Linked DNA regions of Homo sapiens: regions 1 and 2 are each linked to region 3. Evidence: promoter capture Hi-C in human tissues and cell types (Jung and others, 2019). All regions are on one chromosome and are shown on one strand. Each heading gives the region's core, a stretch centred on a gene start or on the middle of the fragment in contact. The rest is flanking DNA. Distances are from core to core; before and after follow the strand shown.

What was found. The method cuts DNA at HindIII sites, captures the fragments that hold promoters and counts their contacts. A contact is called where the count stands out against the background at its distance.
Region 1: a fragment that was not itself captured here is called in contact with the fragment with the promoter of PTPN5 in region 3 in 1 of the 25 tissues and cell types used here (pancreas).
Region 2: a fragment that was not itself captured here is called in contact with the fragment with the promoter of PTPN5 in region 3 in 1 of the 25 tissues and cell types used here (bladder).

What each region holds. Positions count from the first base shown.
Region 1 is chr11:18,852,183-18,855,414 of GRCh38, forward strand. No RefSeq gene overlaps it. Among named protein-coding and RNA genes, the nearest start is that of PTPN5, 62 kb to the left of the region's middle. RefSeq lists enhancers at 1,051-1,180, 1,401-1,450. The HindIII fragment of the contact is 3,963 bases long and covers 1-3,232 here.
Region 2 is chr11:18,829,124-18,832,044 of GRCh38, forward strand. No RefSeq gene overlaps it. Among named protein-coding and RNA genes, the nearest start is that of PTPN5, 39 kb to the left of the region's middle. The HindIII fragment of the contact is 5,292 bases long and covers 1-2,921 here.
Region 3 is chr11:18,789,857-18,793,130 of GRCh38, forward strand. It overlaps PTPN5 (protein tyrosine phosphatase non-receptor type 5), which reads right to left and starts at 1,942. Exons shown (of 15, transcript NM_006906.2): 1 at 1,669-1,942. The HindIII fragment of the contact is 10,569 bases long and covers 647-3,274 here.

The DNA of each region.
Region 1 (3,232 bases), core at 427-2,926, 62 kb after region 3:
GAGGAGAGGGAAGACTGGGGAGGACTTTGTCTTGCATCTTGAAAACCAGCTCAGCCAACAGCAGGATAGGGTACTGGTCAGAGTCATCAGGCCCTCTTACCAGGCCCTGGCTACTGGGTGATTTTTCTAGATATGCCCTGGGGCCAGGAGGAAACCCATTGCCTTGAAGGGAAAAACCTAGTCCTGGCACCATTCATCACCTGCTAACTGAAGAGCCCTTGGGCCCTGAATAACCATCAACAATACCCAGGTACTATGTTGAAGGCCATTCTTCAGCGATCTGGCAGTGGGGCCACACAGGCATTTTAGTCTCAGGCCAGAGATTGGAGTCCTTACTCTGGAGCAGGTTAGGAGCCTCTATGGCCAGAACTGTGGAAAATGCCTCAGCAGTAGGTGCTAGAATTGTGCTTTCCCCCATCACAAGCCTGGGGTGGCAAGAGAGCTGATACAGCTGCAGTTTCTCCTAGGTGGTGAGACTAGGGCCAGCGCCAGCTTGGTGATCTGGAACCAGTCTGCATGTGTCATTTCTGGGTACTCCAGCCTGCTCCCCTGAGACTGTGGTGTAGCAGGGCCCACTCTGCCCAATATCCAGGCAGAAATCCAGGTATTTAGAATACCCATTTTCCTGGACCAGCAGCCTGAGCTACCCTACCCTTCATGGGCATAGATCAAGGTACAGCAAGGCCCTCTTTGCTCCATGCCCAGGTAGATCTCCAGGGATTCAGAGCACCCGCTCATCTGGATTAGCAACCTGAGCAGCCCCACCCTTCCTGTGCAGAGATCCTGGTTCGTGGAGGCCCTCACTGCATCACATCCAGGTATACCTCCAGGCATCTGGAGCACTTGCTCTTCTGTTTCAGCAGGCTGAGCTATCCCACCCTTCCTGGACATAGATTATGATACAGTGAGGCCCTCTCTACTTTATGCCCAGGTAGACCTCCAGGCATCTGGGACACCTACTCTTCTGGATTAGCAGTTTAGGCCACCCCCATCCCTATGCAGAGAACTTGGGGCCAAGGAGGTTTCCCAGCTCCACACCTAGGCACACCTCAGGGCACTTGGTGGCTGCCCACTGGATGCTGGTGTGTGTGTCTCCTACTGGGTGACCCGTAGGTGGAACTGCATGATTGGGCTCTGCCCATCTTGGTCTCCATCCATCTCGGCTCCCACCCATCTTAGTCTCTGCCTTCCTGGGGCTGAACAGGGAGCTCAAACCACTGTGCACTTTAGGAAGCAGCCCACAGCGTGAGGCGATAGGGAATTTCTCTCAGTAAGAAAGAATCAAGTACATACCTAGCATTGTTGGCCACAGCCATCTCTTACCTGTAAGTGCCATCTACTGGCTTGTAGGTTGAACTGCACAACCTAATATAAAACCTGCCAACAGATGTGCATAGTGCTATAGAAGCAAAGCCAAAAATCCTACTCAGCATTCTCTGCAGTCCCATCCCCTAGTGAGAGAGGAAAGGGAAAGGGAAAGGGAAAGAAAAAAAAAAACCCCAATAATATTACATATGAAGACGGAAAAAAATCAAAATAATTACCAAAATTAGAAATGCCAGCAACCCCAGATAAGAAGGAGGCTGCATAAGAATTCTGGCACCATGAAAAATCTGAATGCTGTGACACTACCAAAGGATCACACTAGATCTCTAGCAATGGTCTCTAACCAAAATGGAAACTCAGAAATGACAGATAAAGAATTCAAAGCATTGATCACAGGGAAGCTCAGTGAGATCCAAGACAAGGTTGAAAATCAACACAAAGATACTTCTAAAGCAATCCAGAAAATGAAGGAAGAGATAAACATCCTAAGAATAAATCAATCAGAACTTCTGGAATTGAAAATCTCACTTAAGGATTTTCAAAATATAATTGAAAGCTTTATCTATAGACTAGACTAAGCAGATAAAAGGATTTCAGAGCTTGAAGACTGCTCTTTTCAACTAACCTGTTAGACAAAAATAAAGAAAAAAGAATTTTATAAAGTGAACAAAGTCTTCAAGAAATGTGAGATTATGGAAAGTGACCAAACCTATAAATTATAGGCCTTCCTGACAGAGAAGGAGAAAAAGTAAAGAACCTGGAAAAATATTTGAGAAAATAATTTAAGAAAATTTCCCTAATCTGGCTAGAGAGGTAGACAGCCAGATATAAGAAATCCAGAGAACACTTGCAAGATACTATATAAAACAAACATCATCAAGGCATATAGTCACCAGATTGTCCAAATATCAATGCCAAAGAAAAAAATCTTAAAGGCAGCAAAAAGAAAAGGTCAGGTCACATGCAAAGGGAACCCAATCAGGATAACTGTGGCCTTCTCAGCAGAAATATTATAAGCTAGGAGAGATTGGGGGTCTTTTTTCAACATTCTTAAAGAAAAGAAATTTCAACCAAGAATTTCATATCCCACCAAGCTAAGCTTCATAAGCAAGGGAGAAAGAAAATAATTTCCATATAGGCAAGTGCTAGGGGAATTTTTTTGCCATTAGACTAGCCTTACAAGAGATCCTTAAGGGAGTTCTAAATATGGAAACAAAAAAATGATACATGTTACCACCAAAAACGCGCTTAAGCACATAGCCCACAGACTGTGTAAAGCAACCACGCAATAGAAACTACAAAGCAACCAGCTAACAACTTAATGACAAGATCAAAATATCACACATCAATACTAACCTTATATGTAAATGGTCTAAATGCCCCCAGTACACTTGTATGCAAATGATCGAAATGCCCACAACTTGCTCCTGAATGACCTTTGGGTAAACAATGAAATTAAGGCAGATATCAAAAAATTATTTGAAATAAATGAACACAAAGACACAACATACCAAAATCTCTGGGATGCAGCAAAAGCAGCATTAAGAGGAAAATTTATAGTGCTGAACAACTACCTCAAAAGTTAGAAAGGTCTTAAATTAACAATGGTCTAAGTGTCCCACTTTAAAGAAACAGAGTGGCAAGTTAGATTAAAAAAGACCCATTCATTTGCTGTCTTCAAGTGAGCCATCTCACACATAATGACACCCATATCCTCAAAGTAAAGGGTTTGAGAAAGGTCTACCATGTAGATGAAAAACAAAAAACAACAGTGGTAACTACTCTAGTATCAGATAAAACAGACTTTAAATCACCAACAGTAAGAAAGGACAAAGAAGGGCATTACAAAATAACGAAGGGTTCAATTCAATAAGAGGACTTAACTATCCTAAATATGTGTGTACCC
Region 2 (2,921 bases), core at 403-2,902, 39 kb after region 3:
TACTGGGTGCTTTTGCCTCACAGCTCTTAAGATTCTTTCCTTCATCATGACTTTAGATAACCTGATGGCTATGTGCCTAGGTGATTATCTTTTTGCAATAAATTTTCTGGGTGTTCTTTGAGCTTCTTGTATTTGGATGTCTAGATCTGTAGCAAGGCAAGGGAAGTTTTCCTCCATTATTCCCTCAAATATGTTTTCCAAACTTTTAGATTTCTCTTCTTCCTCAGTAACACCAATTATTCTTAGGTTTGGTTGTTTAACATAATCCCAACCTTCTTGGAGGCTTCATTCATTTTTTTAATTCTTTTTCCTTTGTCTTTGTTGGATTGGGTTAATTTAAAAAATCTTGTCTTTGAGCTCTGAAGGTCTTTCTTCTGCTTGTACAATTCTATTGCCAAGACTTTCCAGTGCATTTTGCATTTCTCTAAGTGTGTCCTTTATTTCCAGAAGTTGTGATTATTTTTTATTTATGTTATCTATTTCACTGAAGATTTTTCCCTTCATATCTTGTATTTTTTTTATTTCATTAAGTTGGACTTAACCTTCCTCTGGTGCCCCCTTGATTAGCTTAATAATCAACCTTCTGAATACTTTTTCTGGCAATTCAGGGATTTCTTCTCGGTTTGGATCCATTGCTACTGAGCTAGTGTGATCTTTTGGGGGTATTAAAGAACCTTGTTTTGTCATATTACCAGAATCATTTTTCTGTTCCTTCTCATTTAGGTAGACTACCATGAAGGGAAGCTCTGGGGCTCAAGGGCTGATATTGCTGGTGTTCAGATTCTTTTGTCCCATGGAGTGCTCCTTTGATGTAGTGCTCTCCCCCTTTTCCTAGGGATGTGGTTTCCTGAGAGCTGAACTGTAGTGATTGTTATTCCTTTTCTGGATCTATCCACCCAGAGGAGATACTCAGCTCTGGGCTGGTATCAGGGGGTGTCTGCACAGAGTCCTGTGATGTGAACTGTCTTCAGGTCTCTCAGCCATGGATAGCAGCATGGTTTTTGGGCTGTCTCCTGGGGTCTGCAGGAACAATTTTCTTCCTTCAAAGGGTCTGTGTGGATTCTTTTGGCTTTCCTGGTATGTTGTTGAGGATTTTAACATGAAGAGATGTTGAATTTCAGTGAGAATCTTTTCTGCATCTATTGAGATAATCATGTGTTTTTTTTTTTAGTTCTGCTTATGTGCTGAATCATATTTATTAATTTGTGTATGTTGAACCCACCTTGCATCCCAGGAATAAAGCCTACTTGATTATGGTGGATTAGCTCTTTGGTTTGCTAGTATTTTGTTAAGGACTTTTGCATCTATATTCATGAAGGATAGTGGCCTAAAATTTTTCTTTTTTTGTTGTGTCCCTGCCAGGTTTTGGTATCAGAATGATGTTAGCCTCATAGGTTGAGTTTGGGAGGAGTCCCTCTTGCTCAATTTATTGGAATAGATTCAGAAGGATTGGGACTAGCTCATTTAAAGCTCATTATTGGTGTGTTCAGGGATTCAGTTTCTTCCTGATTCAATCTTGGGAGGTTGTGTTTCCAGGAATTTATTCCTTTCCTCTAGATTTCCTAGTTTGTTTGCATGAAGGTGTTCATAATAGTGTCTGAGGATCTTTCGTATTTCTGTGGAATTGGTCATAATGTCATCTTTCTTGTTATTGATTATGCTTATTTGGATGTTCTCTCTTTTTTTCTTTATTAATCTAGCTAGCAGTCTATTGATCTTGTTTATCCTTTGAAAGAACCAAGTTTTGCTTTTATTAATTTTTTTGTATACATTTTTGGGTCTCAAAATGTTCTGCTCTGATTTTAGTTATTTGATTTCTTCTACTAGCTTTGGTGTTAATTTGTTCTTGTTTTTCCAGTTCCTCTAGGTGTGATGTTAGAGCATTAATTTGAGATCTTTCTAACTTTTTGAGGTAGGTGCTAAGTGCAGTCAACTTTCTTCTTACCACTGCTCTTGCTGCATCCTAGAGATTTTGATATGTGGTGTGATGTTTTCATTTATTTCGAAGAATTTTTTGGTTTCTGCCTTAGTTTTCCTGTTTACCAAAAAGTCATTCAGGAGCAAGTTGTTTAATTTCATGTAATTCTGTGATTTTGAGAGAGCTTCTTGGTGTTGATTTCTGTTTTTATTCCACTGTGGTCTGAGAGTATGATTTAAAAAATTTTTTTGCACATAAATCAGAACCTCAATGCGATACACCTTACTCCTGCAAAAATGGCCATAATCAAAAAATTAAAAAAAAAATGTTGACAGGGATGCGGTGAAAAAGGAACACTTTTACACTGATGGTGGGAATGCACACTAGTACAACCACTATGGAAAACAGTGTAGAGATTCCTTAAAGAACTAAAGTCATTATATGAAAAAGGTACTTGCGCATGCATGTTTATAGCAGCACAATTTGTGATTGCAAAAGTATAGAACCAGCCCAAATGCCAATTAATCAATGAGTGGATAAAGAAAATGTTTTATAAATAAATATATATATATATATATACACACACACACACACACAAACACACACACATAAGTATATATATACACGTATGGAATACACACACACACACACACACACACACTCAGGAATGGAAAACGAAACGTTGTATGTTTTCACTCATAAGTGGGAGCTAAGCTATGAGGATCAAAAGGCATAAGAATGATGCAACGGACTTTAGGGACTTCGGGGAAAGTGGGAGCGGGTGAGGGACAAAAGACTACACATTGGGTATTGGGTACACTGCTCAGGTGATGGGTGCACCAAAATCTCATAAATCACCATTAAAAACTTATTCATGTAACCAAACACCACCTGTTCCCCCTAAATCTATTGAAATAATAAAAAAAGTATTACATGTGATTGATCATGAAGTATGTTCATTGTGCAAAACAGAAAAATGTATATTTTGTGTTTGATGGGTGGT
Region 3 (3,274 bases), core at 692-3,191:
ATGGGTGCACCAAATTCTCACAAATCACCGTTAAAGAACTTACTCACGAAACCAAATACCACCTGTTCCCCAAAAATCTATGGAAATAAAATAAAAAAAGGAAGTTCTTGAGACCAGAACCTCAGGTCCCTGGAGACTGAACACTGCCCTCCTTGCCAACTATTCCATCCAGTCTCCTCCAAGGTGACTGACTCCATCCCTTCACCATCCGTCTATGCTTGTACTCCTTCAACACATCTCTCGGGGCACCCTCTCTGCACCAGGCATCAGGCTCAGCTCTGGGGACACCTGGCTGCCCTTGAGGGAGCCGCGTGCTGAGAAACCACCCGAACCTGGTGTGATTGTAACTCAAGCTTCCCCAGCAGCTTTGTCAGCAGCACCAAGAGGCTGCCCTTAACGAGCCCCAAGGAGAAAGAGGTGGGGACCTCCGCAAAGGGATGACTACAGGGGCCTGGTTGGAGTAGAAGATCTGGCCCTCAAGCGGGAGGGAAGGGTGACTGGGAGGGCATGCAGTCAGGACACAGTGGAGAAGAGGACGAATCCTGGGATGCCACATCACCTGGTCCAACTGAGGACACTCAGGCTCAGTGTGTCCTGGGTGGATCAGGACTAACGCCTGGGAATCTGATCTCAGGTCCTGGGCTTCTTCATTCTCCCAAACGAATCCCAAACCCGGAGTGTTTGAGTGTTATGAGAGCTCTCCTTTGAGGTTGAAGGAAGCAAATTAAAGCCCCCTCTCCCCTTTTTTTGGTACCATAGGTAGGGAAGGTAGAAAATGAATGGCACCTGCCCCTCCAAGTGGGGCAGGGCTGGAATTACACACTTTCGTGGTACACTCAGGTGAATTTTGGGGTTCTGGGGCTTCAATGTGGGTGGGATCTAGTTGTGTAGGAGGGGAGCATGAGTATGAAAACCAGGAACCCTAGATTCTAATGAAAGCTTTACCACTAACTCTCTGGTGACCTTGGTCCGCCACCTTACTGGGCCTCAGTTTCCCCATCTGTAAAATGAGAAGGTTGAATAAGTTCCCAGGATTCGTCTGGCCCTGATCTTCTAAGCCCTGTGATCCTTGATAAGGTAAGCCTCCCAAGGCTCTGACCCGGGCAATCTCCGGTTTTGCAGGAGCCTGGGCCTCAACCAGAAACAAGCAGCATGCTGGGGGAGGGGAGCGCGCTAAGCTTGTATTCTAGGGGAGGGTGGGACGCGGGAGGCTAAAGCTAAAGGGTCGGTGGAGGCGAAGCAATGGGAAGGCTGGGAGCCGCGCTTTAGAGGCCAGAAGGCTAGCGGCGATTTCCAATCTCCCTCAGGGGCTTCAGGCTCCGGAGAGGCGATGCAGCCCAGAGCCGCGCACCAGCCTCCGCCGGCCGCAGAGGCTCAGACCCCAAACCACTATCCCGATTCCTCCCCGGAACCGCGCACGGGCTTCGTGGGGAGTGGCTGCCGCTCCCTCCCGGCTACCAAGCGACAAGCCCCCTCCTCTGCATGGGGGACCCCTCCCCCAGCATGCGGGCGCCCAGAGCCCCACGGGGGCGTGGCGGGGGCGGGCGCCGGCTCCTCGGCCGGGAGGGCTGGAGAAGGTGTCAGTTGCGGGGCCGCCCGAAGGAGGGACCCGCGCCCTCCACCTTCCGGCTCCGCACACAAAGGCGCAGACGGAGGCGCCGCACTTACCGGCCAGAGCGGGCTCCGGGCGCCGGCGAGCAGGCGGGCAGGCTGGCGGGAGGATGCGCGCGCGAGTGTGCGTGTGTCTGCGTGTGTCCCTGCTTGTGTCTGTGCCAGTGTGTATGCGACGGGGGCCGCGCCGAGCTCTGTGCGTCTGCGTGTGCGGGGGCGTCCGTCCTTCGGTGCCTCCGTCCTTCGGTCCGTCCGCCTGGCGCTCCGTCCCGCGCTCCGTGCGCGCTCCCTCGCCCGACCGCCTCACCAAATGCGCTTCAGCTGCAGAGTCGCTGGCGCAGCCGCCGGGTGGGTTTGGCACCCCCCAGCCCCGGCTCCGCCCCGCCCCCGGGCGGGCTTCCGCCGCTCGCCGGGAATTGCGCAGGGCTGGCGGGGCGGGGGACCGGGAGAGCGGCCTGCTCCCGGGGCACGAAGGGGGCCGGATCACAGACCCTTAACCCCTGACCTCATCTCAGGTGCCTCCCTCTCCCGAGCAACTCTGCGCGGAGTCTCCGCAGTCGTCGCCCCCATGCCAAGGTTGCTTGGACAAGGAGGGCGGAGGAGTGGGAGCAGCGCATCCATTTCATTCATGATTTTTTCTCCTCTTGGGAGCCCCGGGTCGGGCCGCGCGGCTACGGCAACTGCCAGAGGGACCCCGGCAGGGCCGTGCGCGCTGAACCTGGGACGGGACAGACAGGCAGACAGAAGGAGTAGGGGCCAGCGAGACAAAGGGGGCAGAGTTGGGGGAGGGAGTCGGCTCATTGGGGGCATGCCGTGGCGCTCCCCGCATGTTGCCAACACCTGCGCAAGTGGAGCGGCCCCATACTAGGGCGCATGCAATACCAGGTGCCGAGGACTCGTTCTAGGACGCTGAGGAGGCGTCCTTTTTCCCAGTTCTCCCTGTTCAGCCTCTGGGGAGCTAGAGCGAGTGGACAGCCCCTCCCTCCACTGAGTCTTGCCCTCCTGACGTGCGGCGCGGGGCACGCACCTGTTTTGGTTTTCTCGTGGGCACCAGGGGCCCGGACGAGCAGGGAGCTGCCCATGTGCCCCACAATCCTGCCACAATCTTCCGTATTCTCCAGGCTGCTAGTGCGCTGGCCAGAGGTTTCCGGCATTCCATCCCCATGGGGGCTTGAGGCTGTGGGCTGCACACAGGGCAGGGATCCTAAACTCCATTTTTTACACGGGGAATCAGAGGCGAGCCACCACGTAGCTACCACCCTGGTTCCAGCCACCATCCACCCCCGCCCCCCGGGATTTCCATTATAGTCTCTTTACTGGTCTCCCAGCTTCCACCCTTGGCCCCCTGCAGCTGATTCTCTACACAGCAGTCAAGGCGATCCTTTAAAATTTAAGTCAGAGCACGTCGTTCCTTTACTGGAAATCCTACACTAGCACTCCATTTCATCCAAGGGAAAGTTAAAGGCCCCTCATGACCTGCAAAGCCCTTCAGGAACTGGCTCCTTTTTAGCTCTTTAACCTCTCTTTCTACCACCCTCCCCCTTCTCCCACGCTCCAGTCACATTGGCCTTTTTAATGCATCATCGGCGTGGCAGCCCTGTGGCCTCAGGACCTTTGCACTGCTGGTCTGTCTGCCTGGAAACTCTTCCCTCTGATAGTCACA